Linked DNA regions of Homo sapiens: region 2 is linked to region 1. The links are contacts of gene promoters, found by promoter capture Hi-C in human tissues and cell types (Jung and others, 2019). All regions are on one chromosome and are shown on one strand. Each heading gives the region's core, a stretch centred on a gene start or on the middle of the fragment in contact. The rest is flanking DNA. Distances are from core to core; before and after follow the strand shown. Region 1 holds the start of EMX1 (empty spiracles homeobox 1). Region 2 overlaps SFXN5 (sideroflexin 5).

What was found. The method cuts DNA at HindIII sites, captures the fragments that hold promoters and counts their contacts. A contact is called where the count stands out against the background at its distance.
Region 2: a contact is called between a fragment that was not itself captured here and the fragment with the promoter of EMX1 in region 1, in 2 of the 25 tissues and cell types used here (H1 embryonic stem cells and liver).

What each region holds. Positions count from the first base shown.
Region 1 is chr2:72,912,730-72,919,997 of GRCh38, reverse strand. It overlaps EMX1 (empty spiracles homeobox 1), which reads right to left and starts at 2,479. Exons shown (of 3, transcript NM_004097.3): 1 at 1,626-2,479. The coding sequence starts at 2,145. RefSeq lists silencers at 2,074-2,193, 2,264-2,683, 3,824-3,993 and enhancers at 2,498-3,114, 3,115-3,732. The HindIII fragment of the contact is 9,258 bases long and covers 1-6,599 here.
Region 2 is chr2:73,006,838-73,014,105 of GRCh38, reverse strand. All of the region lies in intron 6 of SFXN5 (sideroflexin 5), which reads left to right. It overlaps LOC107985897 (a long non-coding RNA gene), which reads left to right. Exons shown (of 2, transcript XR_001739535.2): 1 at 1-4,923. Among named protein-coding and RNA genes, the nearest start is that of SFXN5, 61 kb to the left of the region's middle. The HindIII fragment of the contact is 3,728 bases long and covers 2,168-5,895 here.

The DNA.
Region 1 (7,268 bases), core at 1,230-3,729:
CTCGGCCGCGGCGGCCCGCGGGCTCACACACCGCCCCAACTACAACTCGGCCCCTGGGCGCCAGGTTTCGAGACCCAGGCTTCGGATCGAGCCCACGGAGGACCAGGGTAGATTGCTCAATTTTAAAGATATCCTCATGTTATCAGTAAACATTTATTTTTAAGTGGCAGAAACTCTTGCCCAAGGCAGATGACATTGTAGCATTTTTGTTTTTTCGGATTTGGATTTGGGCAAGTCTTTGAAATCTTCAAAGAGGAGGCAAGGCTACCCACAACAATTCTTATTCTAGTAATTACATTCTCTGGTTTTGTGGTATCTGCCAGGTCAGCATCTATTGGCCAGGTGGGACTGAAAAAATTGCCTGACAAATCGGGACCTGGGAAAGCGGTTTTCTGTGAAAGTCAAAGTGTCAAGAGATAATTTTCATTTTATTATCTAAACAACTGTGCCAAACATCTAATTGACTGTAGACCTAGACTACAGACCGTCACATTAGCTCCTGGAGCCGAAGCTCCAGCCATGTCCCTTTCATTTGTTTCTCTAAAAGCCGGGTTACCTAGCTCTGAGCCATAGACCCTTCTCACAAGGCTGTGGTCTGGTCTACACTAACAAAATAAAACTGGAAACTAAAGTGATGCCTGTACAAATCAAGGCCACTCTTTAAAATAAAATTTAAAAAAAAAGAAAAGAAAAAAACAAACTCCAACAAATTTCAAGGAAGAAAACGAACTCCAACAAATGCAACTCTCTTTTCTCCGGGAAAGACAAATAATTGAAACGTGTGTGTGTGTGTGTGTGTGTGTGTGTGTGTGTGTGTAGGGCCAGTGGAGGATCTTTATTAGCAAGCCGATTGCTGGATGCAAACTCCGGGGTTCGGACTGGCTACGACCTTAAAAGCCCTCTGCCCCCGCCCCCTGCCCGGGAAAACTGTCCTCGGTATTCCAGCAGCCGGGTGGGCTCCCTCCCGAAGGCGGCGAGCAACGGCGGAAGCCAGTTTGCTTACTGCAAACCTTCCCCACCTTGGGTAGGAGAGGCACGTGTGACTTGGAGAAGTCGGGCCAAGGTTGCCGAGAAACATCCCAAGACAGCCAGGCCCTCCACACTGAACATTAACTCTCCGATTCGCCCTCCCTGCTGCCCTTGCTTCCCCCAGAGCTGGGGCACGCGAATGGACTTTCCCCCGCCCGGACGCGCCAGCGAAGGCTGAGGTCTCGGAGGTGGTGGTGGACTTGCGAGAGAAGCGTGGTGCGAGGTTAAGCCGGGCGGAGGGAGAGCGGGAGGAGTTGTACTCTGGTCTGAGACTGGCTCAGCTGGGAGAGAGAATTGGGCAGGCTGTGGCGAGGGCCAGCACAGGCTCCGAGGACGCGCCTGGGCTTGCGTCCGAACTGGTATATTTTCTAGAAAAGCCTGGAGGTCTCCACCTGCTTTCCTGGGAGGGAGACCTACGCGGCGAAGGCGCGGGTGGATGCCGCACAGCTCTTCCCTGCCTGGGAATCTACCTCCGCGGACCTGCAGCCTTCCCGGCAGTAACTTCTAAACAGCCCCGCGCGCCCCCGAGCCTCCCCCGCATCGCCGCAGCACGGGCGCCGGCCGGCCGCCTCGGCGGGCACAGCGTGGACACTCACCCTGGAAGCGGTGGCCGAAGAAGCGGTTCCGCAGGACCCAGGGGTAGAAATGGAGAGGGTCCCGGTGCTGGGCGCCGAAGAAGGAGTGCGGGGGCTGCAGCGGGGAGGCGCCCAGCTGGTGCGCCGGATGCACGGTCAGCGCGGGGTGGTTCATGGCCTCGGGGAACACGAGCTCGGGCCCACCGTAGAGCGAGCGGCCCGCGCCCGCGGCGGCCGCGGCAGGGAAGCCACTCACGAAGGCCGCCTCGGCCGCGCTGGGGTGAGGGTAGTTGAGCGCCGTGGGCCGGAGCGGTTCCTCGGAGGCGGCCGCCGCCAGGAGATGGGAGCCCGCGCCCCCGCCGCCAGTGCCCCCGCCGGTGCCGCCGTCCTTGGCCACCAAGGACTCTATGGTAAAGCCGCGCTTGGCCGCGGGCTGGAACATGGTCGCAGCCGCGGGAGCTGTGCGAGGCAGCCGGGCTCTGGGGAGCGCTCCGCGTCCTGGCGCCGCCGCCTTGCGGGGTGTGCACCCAGCCAGGCACATGCACACCCGCCCGCACCCCTCACCTCCCCCGCCCGCCCGCTCGCGCTCGGCCCCCGCGGGCGAGCCAGGCGCGGAGCGGCGAGGGGTGTGTGAGCGAGCGACCGCGGGGTCCGGCCACAGCGTACGGCCAGGCGCGGCGGCTGCTGCGGCGGAGCGGGCAGCTCCAGGCGCCCGCACAGGCGCGGGCTCCGTGCTAGGCTGCGAGCTGCCAGTAAGGCCCGAGGGTTGAGCTCGTCTCCCTCCTTTCGGAGTCCCGCTGGGACCGACCCCAGCCCCCGGTGTCCCCGCACTGCCCTGCCCAGCCCCGGCCGCCCAGCGCTGCGAGGCGCGAGTTAGCGGGCACCTGCCCCGCGCTCGCCCATTGGCCGCCGCTCACCTGCCCCAAGGTGGGGGGCGGGGCGGGGCGGGGCGAGGGACGGCGGGTGGGGAGGGAGCCCGCAGTCGGAGGCAAAAGCCGGACTGGAGCCTTCGCGGGGAGATCCAGGCCTCCTCCTCCCCTCGCCACTGGCTTCTCCTCGCGACTCCGCCCTTTAGCTGAGTCTGGTGGCCGTGCCGCCGTCTCAACCCACGCGGGAGCCGAAGAAGGCGTCCGAAGGGCTTGGGGCTAAACTCCAACCCTCCCCTCCCCGGTGTGTAGCTCAGCCTAACTCTCCCATTCGTCCCGGGATGTCGTTTCAGTTCTCAGAGAACTTGGATCCGAGCGGAGGGTGGATGTTTGGGGTCCAACACATTGGTTTTCCCGAAAACCAGCTCTCTGCCCCCCTGCTCTCCGGGACTCTCCCACTCACCCACCATCGGCCTCCTGGGCCGCGGTCTGAAGCTGCGACCTTGTTCCTGAGGTTTCGCGTTTTCTGGATGTCACGGGGGACAGCTCTGGAAAGGGGACGCTCACTCCCTTCACAAGGGGCCAGGCGGGGCACTGCGCGGGAGAAGCCGCCGGAGCGGTCCCACTGCCACCCTCCAGCTGTTCGCGGGGCTGGAAGCAGCTCCAGTGCCCAGACACGGTGCCGCGACCGGCTTGGACCAGGACGGCGGGCCTCGGCACTGGGAGATCCACCCCCTCGCCTTCTCTGAGGCTCTGGGGGCTCAAGTGTCGGCGGGCCGGACCAGGTCAGGGCCTCGGAGACACTGTGGCTTAAATTGAAGCTGGCCAAGTAGCCCGAGCCCATCTCAAGAGAACACGCCAGCCGTCAGGACACGCAGAAGCAGCCTGACCTCCCTCGACCTTCACCTTCCACCCGCGACCGCGGAACCGCGGACGACTCTGCTCCGGCCAGTTTTTCCGTACGGCGGACGAATTCCCCGGGGGCAGTTCTCACGACAGGCTGTGAGAGCCGGGACTCCCCAAACTTTCCCACCCCACCTTCGAGGCCGCAGAAAGGCGCCGCTCCGAGGCCTAGGAGGGCGCGGGCGGCGGTGGGGAGGCTGGGACCTGGACCTTGCCGGCGCACTGCGGAGAGGGAGCCGCAGAGAGTTCCGCTTCCTCGCCGCTGCCGGGGTCCATTCTAGCGGCCTGAGCGCTGCCTGGGCGCGCAGATCTGGGTTGGGCCTCCTGACGCCCCAAGGCCACGGGGTCCGTGCGCCGCGCAACTCTGCGGGGACTCCAGGCCGGGTCTTGGCAGCGGCCCGCCTGAGCGCCGGGAGCCGTGGTTTGGAGAGCGCTCAGGGCGCCCCGGCCGCCACAAAGCGGGTTAAAGTCTATTTTCCACTCGACTGCTCCGAAAAGCCCCCGCGCGCCGACGCCGTTCCGGCCCCCTTGGGCGAGGTGGGGAGGGGCGGCCAGGGGTGGGGAGGCGAGGCGGCCGCACCCAGCACTCCTCCGCGTCCTGGGAACCCCGGGGCCTGGCACGGCTGAGACACCGCAGAGGCGCCTTCGGAAGGAATGATGGAATCCGTGGGGAGCGCGGGTTCTCGCTGGCCTCTCCGGAGATTTCCAGCTTTCTGTGATGGTCTTTTCCTCTCGTTTGTGTCTCAGGCTCTTTATTTTCCCCCTCTCCTGTCTCCCGGCTCCCCTACCTCCCGACTTTTCCTCCTCTGATTTCTTCCCCCTCCTCCTTTTCCCCACCCTCAGTCTGGGAAAAGTGGAAGCGCCGCCGAGGGGGGGACCAGGACCCGACCAGGCCGTATCTCTAAGGGGGCGGGGGTGCGGAGCTGGGCAGAGGTACAGAAGGAGATTTTCGTTCCATATGGAAGGAGACAACGACGGGATTTTGTTGGAACAAGGTTCCCACAGGGATGCGGGTTCAGTTGGGTAAACGTTGCCTGGGCCTGTGCTCTGCGGTGACAGAGCAAGTGCTGGGGGCTGAGACAAGACAGGAGCCCAGCAAGCTGAACCCGGCCCGAGGGCCTTGCGCTCCTAGCCTGGTAATGAATCCCACCCGTTCTGTCGCAGACCCCCACCGAGAGGCTGGCCAGGGGCCACGAACTTGTTTAACTGGGCAGGTAGAGAAGCTTGGAATCTACCGACCGTCCTAGACTTGCATCTACACTGGCCACCTCCTTTCATTCGTGTGGCTCTGGGTATACTTGTTCATATCTAAATCAATAGACCTTTTATTACACCACCTTCCCTTGTGAGGCATTCAAATGCTGACATTTCTACTCGGGAGGCTGAGACAGGAAGATCTCTCGAGCCCAGGAGGTCGAGGCTGCAGTGAGCCGTGATCATACCGCTGCACTCCAGCCTGGGCGATACAGGGAGATCCCATCTCTAAAACAAACAACAAAAAACGTTGACATCCAGCTGTCTGTCATTAACTCCACTTTACAGATGAAGAAACAGCGGAGGATCAGTAACTTGAGTCTGGTCACCGTCTTGGTTGGGCTGGGACAGCCCCGGGGTCCCAGCCTGGCCTAGCTTCCACTCCCATTCCATCCCTGTGAGGATGCAGTCGCAGACTTCCCGGGGGAGGGGGAGGGGGTGCTGGAATGCGCTGGGTGATAGGAGTTCCGTTTTCGTCCTCCCTCACCTTTTCCTCTCCCAGCGCCCCTTTCTGTCAGCTTCCTCTCCAGTAATTCCCTAATTTTCTTCCTTTTCTTCCATAGCTCTGCTTATCTTTATCCCTTGGCCAGTTTCCTCTATTTTCACTCCTCTTAGGACCTATTCTCTTGTCGTTTCCTCTGCAGCAAGTTAAGAGAAGAATTTGTCACCCTCAGGGGGTCTCTAAGCCTGCCTCTGTGTACTGGATTCAGTATCAGTGCCCCCACCCCCACCCCAATCTTCTCCTGTGCCATCTCCCCTGCCCTGTTCCTCCCAGACTCTCATACTGCTCCCTCTACCACCATCCCCCACAACTGATCGTATACACAAATACTTCCCCTCTTCACCACTGGACAGCTGCCCATCTTAACCAAAACCCGTTCCCCCCACCACCTTCTGCTCCCTGCCCTTCGTTTCCTCCCACCCAAGCTGCTGAGCTCTGCCAGAGACTGGAGGCTCTTCACGCTGGAGTCCACTACATCCCACCCATCTTCAGGCTGCTTACCTTTCACTTTGCCCCTGTCCAGCCTCCCACCAGTTTCCTGGAGGTCCCATCTCCTGCAACCCGGAGCCTCACTTTTTGGAGAATAGCCCGATGCCTCCCAGGCTGATACAGCCTAGCCTACCTGTTCTGGCTCTGGCCCCACATTAACGTTTTCCCTCCCTCTCTCTATTTCTGGAATAACCTGGCCCCAAATCCAGACTCTCCTATTTATTAGTGGTGAGCCCTGGGCCAATTATTTTGCCTCAGCTTGCGTATCTGTGAAATTGCAAGCGTTATACGGGACCTCTGTGAGGAGTAAATGAGATAACATATGTGGTGCACTGGATCAATGTCAGACTCCAAAGAGCACTCAGTACAAGTTATTGTCTCTGCCTTTGTCCATGCGGAGAACTTGGGAATCACCTCAAAGCATCACTCTCTCATCCTCCACATCCAATCAGTGGCTCAGTCATCCAGTGATGTAATCCTCAAGTCTATATCCTCTTCCTTTTGCTTCTTTGCTGGCTAACTTCGTTCTTAAAACTCAGTTCATCTCCCTGGGAAGCCCTCCACCCCATTCTTTCATAGCATTCACCTGCGATGGGGGTTGTGTGTGTCTCCATCTGTCTCCCTCACAAGGCCATGACTCCCTGCTCCCTCTAGCTGGGAAGCTGCTATGTACATCTCGCCACCAGCACAAGCCAGGCAATGTTTCTCCAACAGAGATCTTGTGAGAATTTGGACCAGCCACACCCCCAGCCATCTCTCTTTCACCTTTCACCTCCTTCTTTCCTATTCAGCCTGACTTCATCTTTATGTCTCCTTGCCTTACAAAGAGTTTTCTGTCCTCATGTTTCTCTCAGTCTTTTGACTTGTCTTTTTCACCACAAAATTTCTTGAATGATTTTTAGTCTCTCTCCAATTCTCTCACTTGCCCTCTATCCAAGCCTTTGCAACCAGACTTGGATGCCCATCATATTAGGAAAATGGCTTTTGCAAAAGCTCCAAACATTTCATTATGGTATGAGGACAAGGGCAAGCAACACGTGCTTGTGGAGAGCACAATAAGTTCAACCTCATGGAGTTATTGAGACCTAATGAGTTATAATCTCCACCTGATGAACTTGGAGCAGTGCCTGGAACATAGTAGGCTTTTGATAAATATTAACTGCTATTATTTCATAGAGCCGTGCTAGGAGCCAAATGCGGTAATGTGGTGCTTGAGAAGTGGATGGCCCAAACAGAGATGTTCTGTAAATGTGAATATCCACTGCATTTAGTGTTAAACAGGCTTAGTGCTAAAACATTTAAAATATTAATATTTTTATATCGATTACACATAGTAATGGATATATTGAGTAAAATGAAATATCTTAAGAAGATTATTTTATCTATTTCTTTCTACTTTTTAAATGTGGCCACTAGAACATTTAAAATTATGTGTCTCACATTATATGTCTATTGGACAGAGTTATAAAAAATACAGATAATCCAAAAGGGGGGAGTGAAGGGAAAACAGAGATCTTATAATTGTCAAATCCTACTACCCAGAAACAAACATCGTGAAATTCTTACAGTATATCCTTCCAGTTCTTTCTATATGTGCCTCCCTTTAAAAAAAGGATCATACTGTACATAGTATTGTAACTTCTTTATCTT
Region 2 (7,268 bases), core at 2,782-5,281, 93 kb before region 1:
AACACAGGAAAGAAAACAATGAGCAAGGGCGACATTTATGAATATGGATAAATCTCAAAAACAATGTTGAATGAAAAAATAGTAGCAGAGTAGTAATGCTCTCTGTCATTTATATAATGTTAAAAAATATGCAAAGCAATATTATATATAGTTTATGAGTACATTTTTAATGCATCCTTAAAAACATCCATGGGAACAATAAGCACCGGCTTCGTGATACTGTTTACCTCTGGGGAGAGAAAGCAATGAAATTTAGCAGGAGAACAGGGGGTGCTTCATTTGTATTTATAGTGTTTCATCTTTTAAAAACATCTTCACAAAAAAATTGACGAAATAAGATTGGACATATATGGATGCTCGTTATCCTCTAGACTTTTCTGTATCCTTGAAATATTTCATTTTATACATATATTTAAAAATATATAAATATATCGAGAGAGGTATTATTCACATCTCTATTTTTATGTCGTTGCCCTGAAACTACTACATTGTTCTGAAATATTCTGAGAAAGGTTTATAAATTTCCCACCATAATTGTGTGTATGTGCAAGTGTGTGTTTCATTTCTTTGCATTTCTTGCGGTTGTCTTATAGATTTCAATGCAATGGTGTTTGGTGTGTTCAGACAGTTTTGTCTTCTTGATATCATCTCTATCTCTCAAACACACACACACACACACACACACACACACACACACACGAAATATCCCTGTTTCATTGATTATTCTTGCCTTGAATTTTCTCTTAATTTTTTTATTCCTGTTTTGCTTAAATGACTTGCATTATATATCATTGCCTGTACCTTTATGTCAGAGTCATTTAATTTCTGTGCCATTTTGTATTACACATCTCTTTTGGACAAAATATAGCTGAATTCTACTTTTGCTGCATAAAAAGGCTACTTACATTTAACTCAGTTTGAGAAACACTGCCTTTAATTTTAATGAGAAATGGAACCCATTCGTATTTATTCTGCCACTGATGGTTATGACTGCATATCCCAGCTGTCAAATGGGTTTTCTTGTGGCTGTTAGCTTTTTATTAAGCTTTGTTATTGTTTCCACTTCTTCTCCTGATTTATACTAGAGGATAAGTCCTTTAGTTTCTTTAGTTTGGAAGGGGAGCATCCTAATTTTCTCTACTTACCATTCATCTGTCATATTTTATAGTACAGAGAGGTTGCATTATATATACTTTATAATCAAGAGTCAAATAATAAATATGACTTACCTAACGCTACCCACATAGGAGGAGACCTGTAGCATGTAATTTCACTCTACTCTCTACTTGATCATTTTACCTCCCTCCACACACCTGCCAAGTTTTTGGAAATCATCTGGAATTTCATCAGATTTATAAAGCCTTTCTTAACACCTGTATTATACTTAACAATTATTTAGGCTGTGTGTGTGTGTGTGTGTGTGTGTGTGTGTGTGTGTGTGTGTGTGTGTGTGTGTTGTTTGGCTAGAATACCCTTTAGAACAATATTCAGAATATAGGGGTAATATGCCTTTCTGAATCTTTGCATATCTGGAGATCTTTTTTTCTCTTTCATACATGAACAATAGTTGGCCTGATTTTCTTTTCCTTTCTAGGTAAACTTCCCCCTTCCCCTGGAATCGTTTGATATTTTTTCTCTTTATCTTTGGAGTTCAGAAATATCTCCTAGGATTTAAAAAAAAATCTTCTCTGTATATTTTATAAAATTATACAAGTAATACATGAATATGTTCTTTGGGATTCAAAAATACCACCAAGAATGTTTTATAAAGAATATTTTAAAAGTTATACAAGTAATACATGAATGTTCTCTCAGCTCAGAATTTAAACAATACAACCAAAAGTAGAGGTCCTTGTGATGCTCCTCAACCCCGAATCTCTGCCCAGAGTAACCCCTGTAAGAAGTTTGGTGTGTGCCTCTAGGCTTTTTCTAGATATCTGCATACATTTAAGTCATTTAAAGTGTTTTTTTGTTTTGTGGAGTTTTCCATTAAAATATAACAATATACTTATTTATCTATGGTTAGCTTATGACACTTAGCAGTTTGCCTCCATAACAATTGGCTTCATTTATTTATTTGTTTGTTTTCTCTGCTGAATGGCACCCTCTCCTCCAGTGTGATGGGTTGAGGTTATGTCCGATTATTTGCTATTAGAAACGATTGTGCTGTGAAAAATCTTTGTAAAGCCATTTTTGCACAAGGATAAGGGTTTCTCAAGGGCACTTCCAGAAAGTGAATTTGCTGCATAAAAAGCTACACACATTTACATCTTTAACAGATATGGCTGAATTTCCCTTCAAAAAGACTATATTTCTCCATGCTTTTGTAACACTAGTATTCATTCATCTTTTTAACGTTTTTGCCAATCTGATGGGAGAAGGGGTAGATTCTCATTATACTTTAAATTTTTGTTTCCATAAACACCAAAAAGATGTTGGTGCTTTTTAAATCTATTTATTGGTGATTTGTATTCCCCCTTCTCTGAATTACCTGTTCACACTCTTTGTCCATTCTTCCATGGGCCATATTTTTCTAGTTGATTTGTAAGAGCTCTTTATGTATTTTGGACATTAATCCTTTGGATTATATATATGGCACGTCTCTTCTCCAGCTGTTTCTCCCTTATTCTCTGGTGTCTTTGTTATAGAAAAGTTTTAAATATTGATGTCTTTAAATATAATGATCTCTCTTTTGATTGATTTGAGTCTTTTTCCACTCCACACCTCCATCTCCTTTATTAAAATAACTGAGGCCAGGAGTGGTGGCTCACACGTGTAATCCCAGTACTTTGGGAGGCCAAGGTGGGAGGATTGCTTGAGCCCAGGAGTTTGAGACCAGTCTGGGCAACATAGGGAGATCCCATCTCTACAAAAAAGTTTAAAAATTAGCCAGGCATGGTGGTGTGCGCCTGTGGTCTCAGTTACTCAGGAGGCTGAGGTGGGAGGATTACTTGAGCTGAGGAGTTTGAGGCTTCAGTGAGTTTTGATTGTGCCACTGCACAATTGATTGATTTGTGAAAGCTATGTCGTGGAATCAGCTCTTGGATGTATTTATCAATTCTGTATTCTAATTATTCTTTTATGCTTTTGTTTTTATAATATCCTTTTTCCCTCCTTTCTTTGTTTGTGGTTGGTTTTCTTACTTTTTGCCTTGAATGCTTAGTTTATTTATTTTCCTTCTAATGAAAGTGTTTAGTGCTGTGAATTTGCCTCTGAATATATCTAAAACATGGCTATATCTGATATGTTTTCATATATAGTGATCTTATGTTGTTATTTTCTAAATAAGCTTGGAATTATAATTTCAAATCCTCTTTAGTCAATTAGAAGAACACATTTTAAATTCTAAGTGGTTGGGTTTTAAAAAATGTGTTCTTTTGTTATGTTCTAGCTTATCTTATTTTCAGAGAAAGTGACCTCTACAATTTTGCCAAATTTTGCCATTTGGGATTTATTGTGGTTTTCTTTGTAGCATGGTATCTGAATATGTCAGTTAGGATCAGGGTCATCTGCATGTAACAAAGTCCAAAATAACAGTGGCTTAAACAAAATAGTTTATTTCTCTCTTATGTCAAAGAAGTTTGGAGATAAGGAGGACCCCCACAATATCATCAGGAACCCAGACTTCCATTTTTCTACACCACCATTTTCAGTACTGGCTTCTATTGTAAAAAGTCACCCCATAGCCCGAGATGGCTGCTGGAGTTCCAGCCATCACATTCACATTCCAGAGAGGAGAAAGAAAAGAAGAATAGTAGGCTATATCTCCCAACCGAAATACATTTATCTTTAAGATACAGCCTCTCTTTAAGGAGCCTTTTGGGAATTTCCATGCAACATTCCATGTTCTGCATATATTTCATTCAGAATTTAGCTGGGTATATACATTTCATTTAGAATTTAGCTGGGTATATAGTTGATCCCCAATTATATAAGGATTCTATTAGTAAGAAAGAAGGGAAGAATGGTGATAGGCAAACAAGAATGCCATAATAACTTTTATAAATATTCCATCAACACTTTAAAAGATATACAATTTGGTGGTATCATCACTTTGTTAAACTGGGTAACTGGGTATTTGAAATGGCAAAAGTTGAATGTGGGGCTCATTTTTCCCTGAGAAGCCAAATGGACCCTTACACAATTATCAGCTGCCATCAAGTGGGAAGAACTGGCCAACCCAGCAGATGCCAGCACTGTCTTCCATTCACAAGGAGTTACTGAGGCTCACCCCATACGTTTCCACTCTCTCCTTACCCTACCCTAGACAAGCCCATCATTGCAGGGTCACTATGGCCCTGTAGGCAGGTGGGAGACTTGGATGCTGATCCACTCCCCTGCCATTCAGGGGTTCATTGCTGAAGCAGATGCTGTGAATGTCCTAACAGGACCGATCCTTTCCCAGCCTGGAGCAAGCATCCTTCTGTGAATAAACGCATGTGGTGTAAGAAGAGGATGCCCTGGCCCCCAAGATCCTGTGTGAATACTTGATGGAGGCGAAATGGGGAGCATGGCCTGGGATACCTCCCAGCAGCTCTACGAGGCAGCCAGAACTGAAATGACAATGCTCACCTATCCCCACTTCCTAGCCCCAGATATCTGTATCCTGAGGTTCAGAACAGTCAAGCCAGAGGCTGAGTCTCCAGAGGAACCACTGGATTTGAAGAACCTGGGCCTCCCACCTTGGCACTTTCACATGGACAAGCAACATGGTCCGTCACCACTCCTCCCCACCCCTGGGCCACTGCCTCGTCTTGTGTGGAAAGAGCATGCTGGCTGCTCCAGTGCTTCCTGCAGCCCCATCAGCTTCTCCAAGGCCCTGCTGTCGCCTGGTAGCACTGAACATTTAAGCAAATGCCTGGTCTGAAGGGGAGTGAAGGTTCCAGTCCACACCTTAGGAAAGCCCCTGGTCTGATGGAGTGGGTAAGAAAATATACGCATGCAGAAGCCACTAAAAATGCTTACCAAAATAGAAACGAGGGTGCCAGCGAATGTGCTAGGAACTGGGTCCCTGAGTGATGAAGGGAAGGGGCGAGTAAGGCTGGCAGGTGCCTCAACTGAGAAGCTTCTGGAAACCACAGTCAAGCTGCCTTCTGCCCAGGTGCACATCCCCAGCTTGACCCCTACGCTGTTTCCACTTTGCCCGGGAGTCACCTCGCCCTACCCTGCTCGCCCCCCAGAGCTCAGGAGAAACGAGCTGGTTTTCTCCCAGAGGCTGGTGCCAGTTTAGTCAGCAGATTTCACAGATCCACTGGCAACCATGTAGTGTCTTATTTTAAGCTTAACATTTGAAGATGGGAACTTTTTCCCCCTTCGGTGTGTGGCAAAGAGATCCCAATTTATACATAAGCACCGCGGCTATGCCGGTGCACTGAGGCTGTCCCTGAGGCTCTGCGGTTCGTCACTCCCTTTCTTCAGGTATCTTTCCAGAAAAAACCCGCCAGCGTGGTTGCTTCTTATACACGGCCTCTCCCTTCCCAGGTTTCCCCTAAGCACAGCACTGCCGCTTCCATGCACGTGGCCTGGGAGAGGCAGGGCCCGGCTTGGCCCTGGTGGTCCGGCCCTCGTCCTGCCTGCCCTCTCCATTTCTCCTCTGCTCCTGCGCCCTCTTCCCTTGGCTGCTGCGGAATGCCTCGGATGCCAGGGCCTGGGTTTCCCTCATGGGCCTGGGGCTCTCCCAGAGAGCATTTGTGCCTCTCTCAGCCCTGAGCTCCCCACAGCACTGCTTCCCTCCCCTCTCCTTCTCCCCGCTCCATGTCATGTCGAACTCTCAAAACTTAGGGACCAAATGCCTCATTTCCAGCCCAGGGTGCTAAGGAGGGCAGACCATGAACACCTAGTTATTGGGTCTGGTGGCCTTAGGTTAAGTCTAAATCCGATTTCTGTCTTGAGACATTAAGAACTTGGACTCTGTACTTTGCACTCCTTCATTTTAACACACAGGTGATCACATGGGCTTAGAGACTCTAAGTATCAGAAGATGCTGGTGTCGGCCACTTCATCTCCAGGGGTGTTTCCCAGGGCCCTCCTGACATCTCCCAAGCCGCCTCATCCCTCCTCTGCTTTTTTGCACATTTAAATCCCAATCCCAATGTTCTCCCTGGCCTTCCTCCAGCATTACCAGACCCCAGCCATGTTGACCTAGCTCACCACACAGGAGGTGTCGCTCCAGTGAAGCTAGAATTGACCGGTCTGGGGTAAACATTCATTTGACAGAGATTTTCTTTAACTGGCTGACATCCTTTAAGTAGCAACACCCCTTATACACTGAAGTGTAACTTTCAGATCATTAGCCACATAAATCAGAAGATGGAGACACAGTAGAAGGAAAAAACAGGACAATTGTTGTGTGTTGGGGTACTGCGGCCCATGGTGGATGACAAAGAGGAACATTTTGGAGTTGAGCGAGTCAGTGTGGCGGAAGGGGATGAGATGTAAAGACACTTGCTCTACCTGGGAGGCTCCCGGGTATGTGGGGAGGCAGCGTGGAGGGGCCTCATTTCTCTGAAGCTTATAGAAGCTCTCGAGGAAGATAAACTTTCCACAGCTTTTTGCTGATGAGGTGAATGGTACAGAGAAGGCATGCAGGGTGCCGGAGAGCGCGTGACAGACCTAACCTCACTGTGAGGGTCAGAGGAGACATCCTGGAGGAAGTGACGCCTAAACTGAAACCTGAAGGATGAGGAGGGAGGGATTAGCCAAGCAGAAATGGGGTGAAGGGTGAGAGGGATGATTATTTCCATTATCTTGGCGAACAAGACAGTTCGCCCTAGTCTTCCCCTGGCTTCAGTTTTACCACCCAATTGTTTTGACGCATACCCCATTTCCTCTCCAGGTTTCCCACGCTTTTAAAAAAACCTTTCTCCTGTAGTTTGAGTCAGTTTTGTATGGGAGGTGGCCAAGGGGGTGGGGGCTTGCTCAGTTCTGAGTCCTGATATCATCGTACACAGAACTGTGGCAGTGGCCTTACCCCTCCTGCCTTTATCTTCAGCTGTTCATGTTCCACTTCTGGCCAAGCAGACTGAGATATTTGGGGGTGCCTCTCTCCCAGATTGAGACCTCATCTCTCTGCAGCAGTTAGAATACTCTGAAGGAGGAGGCCCAAAGTGAAGATGTGATTTTTCTTGTAGCAAGTTACCATATGGGTGCCATTGGCCCCATTCCTTACTCTGTCTTGAGACTAGGCTCAAGCACAAACTGCCCCTCTTCCTGGGCCTGTCAGGGCAGCCCTAGAGATGGGCTGATGGCCCCTGGATTGGGTGGGTTTG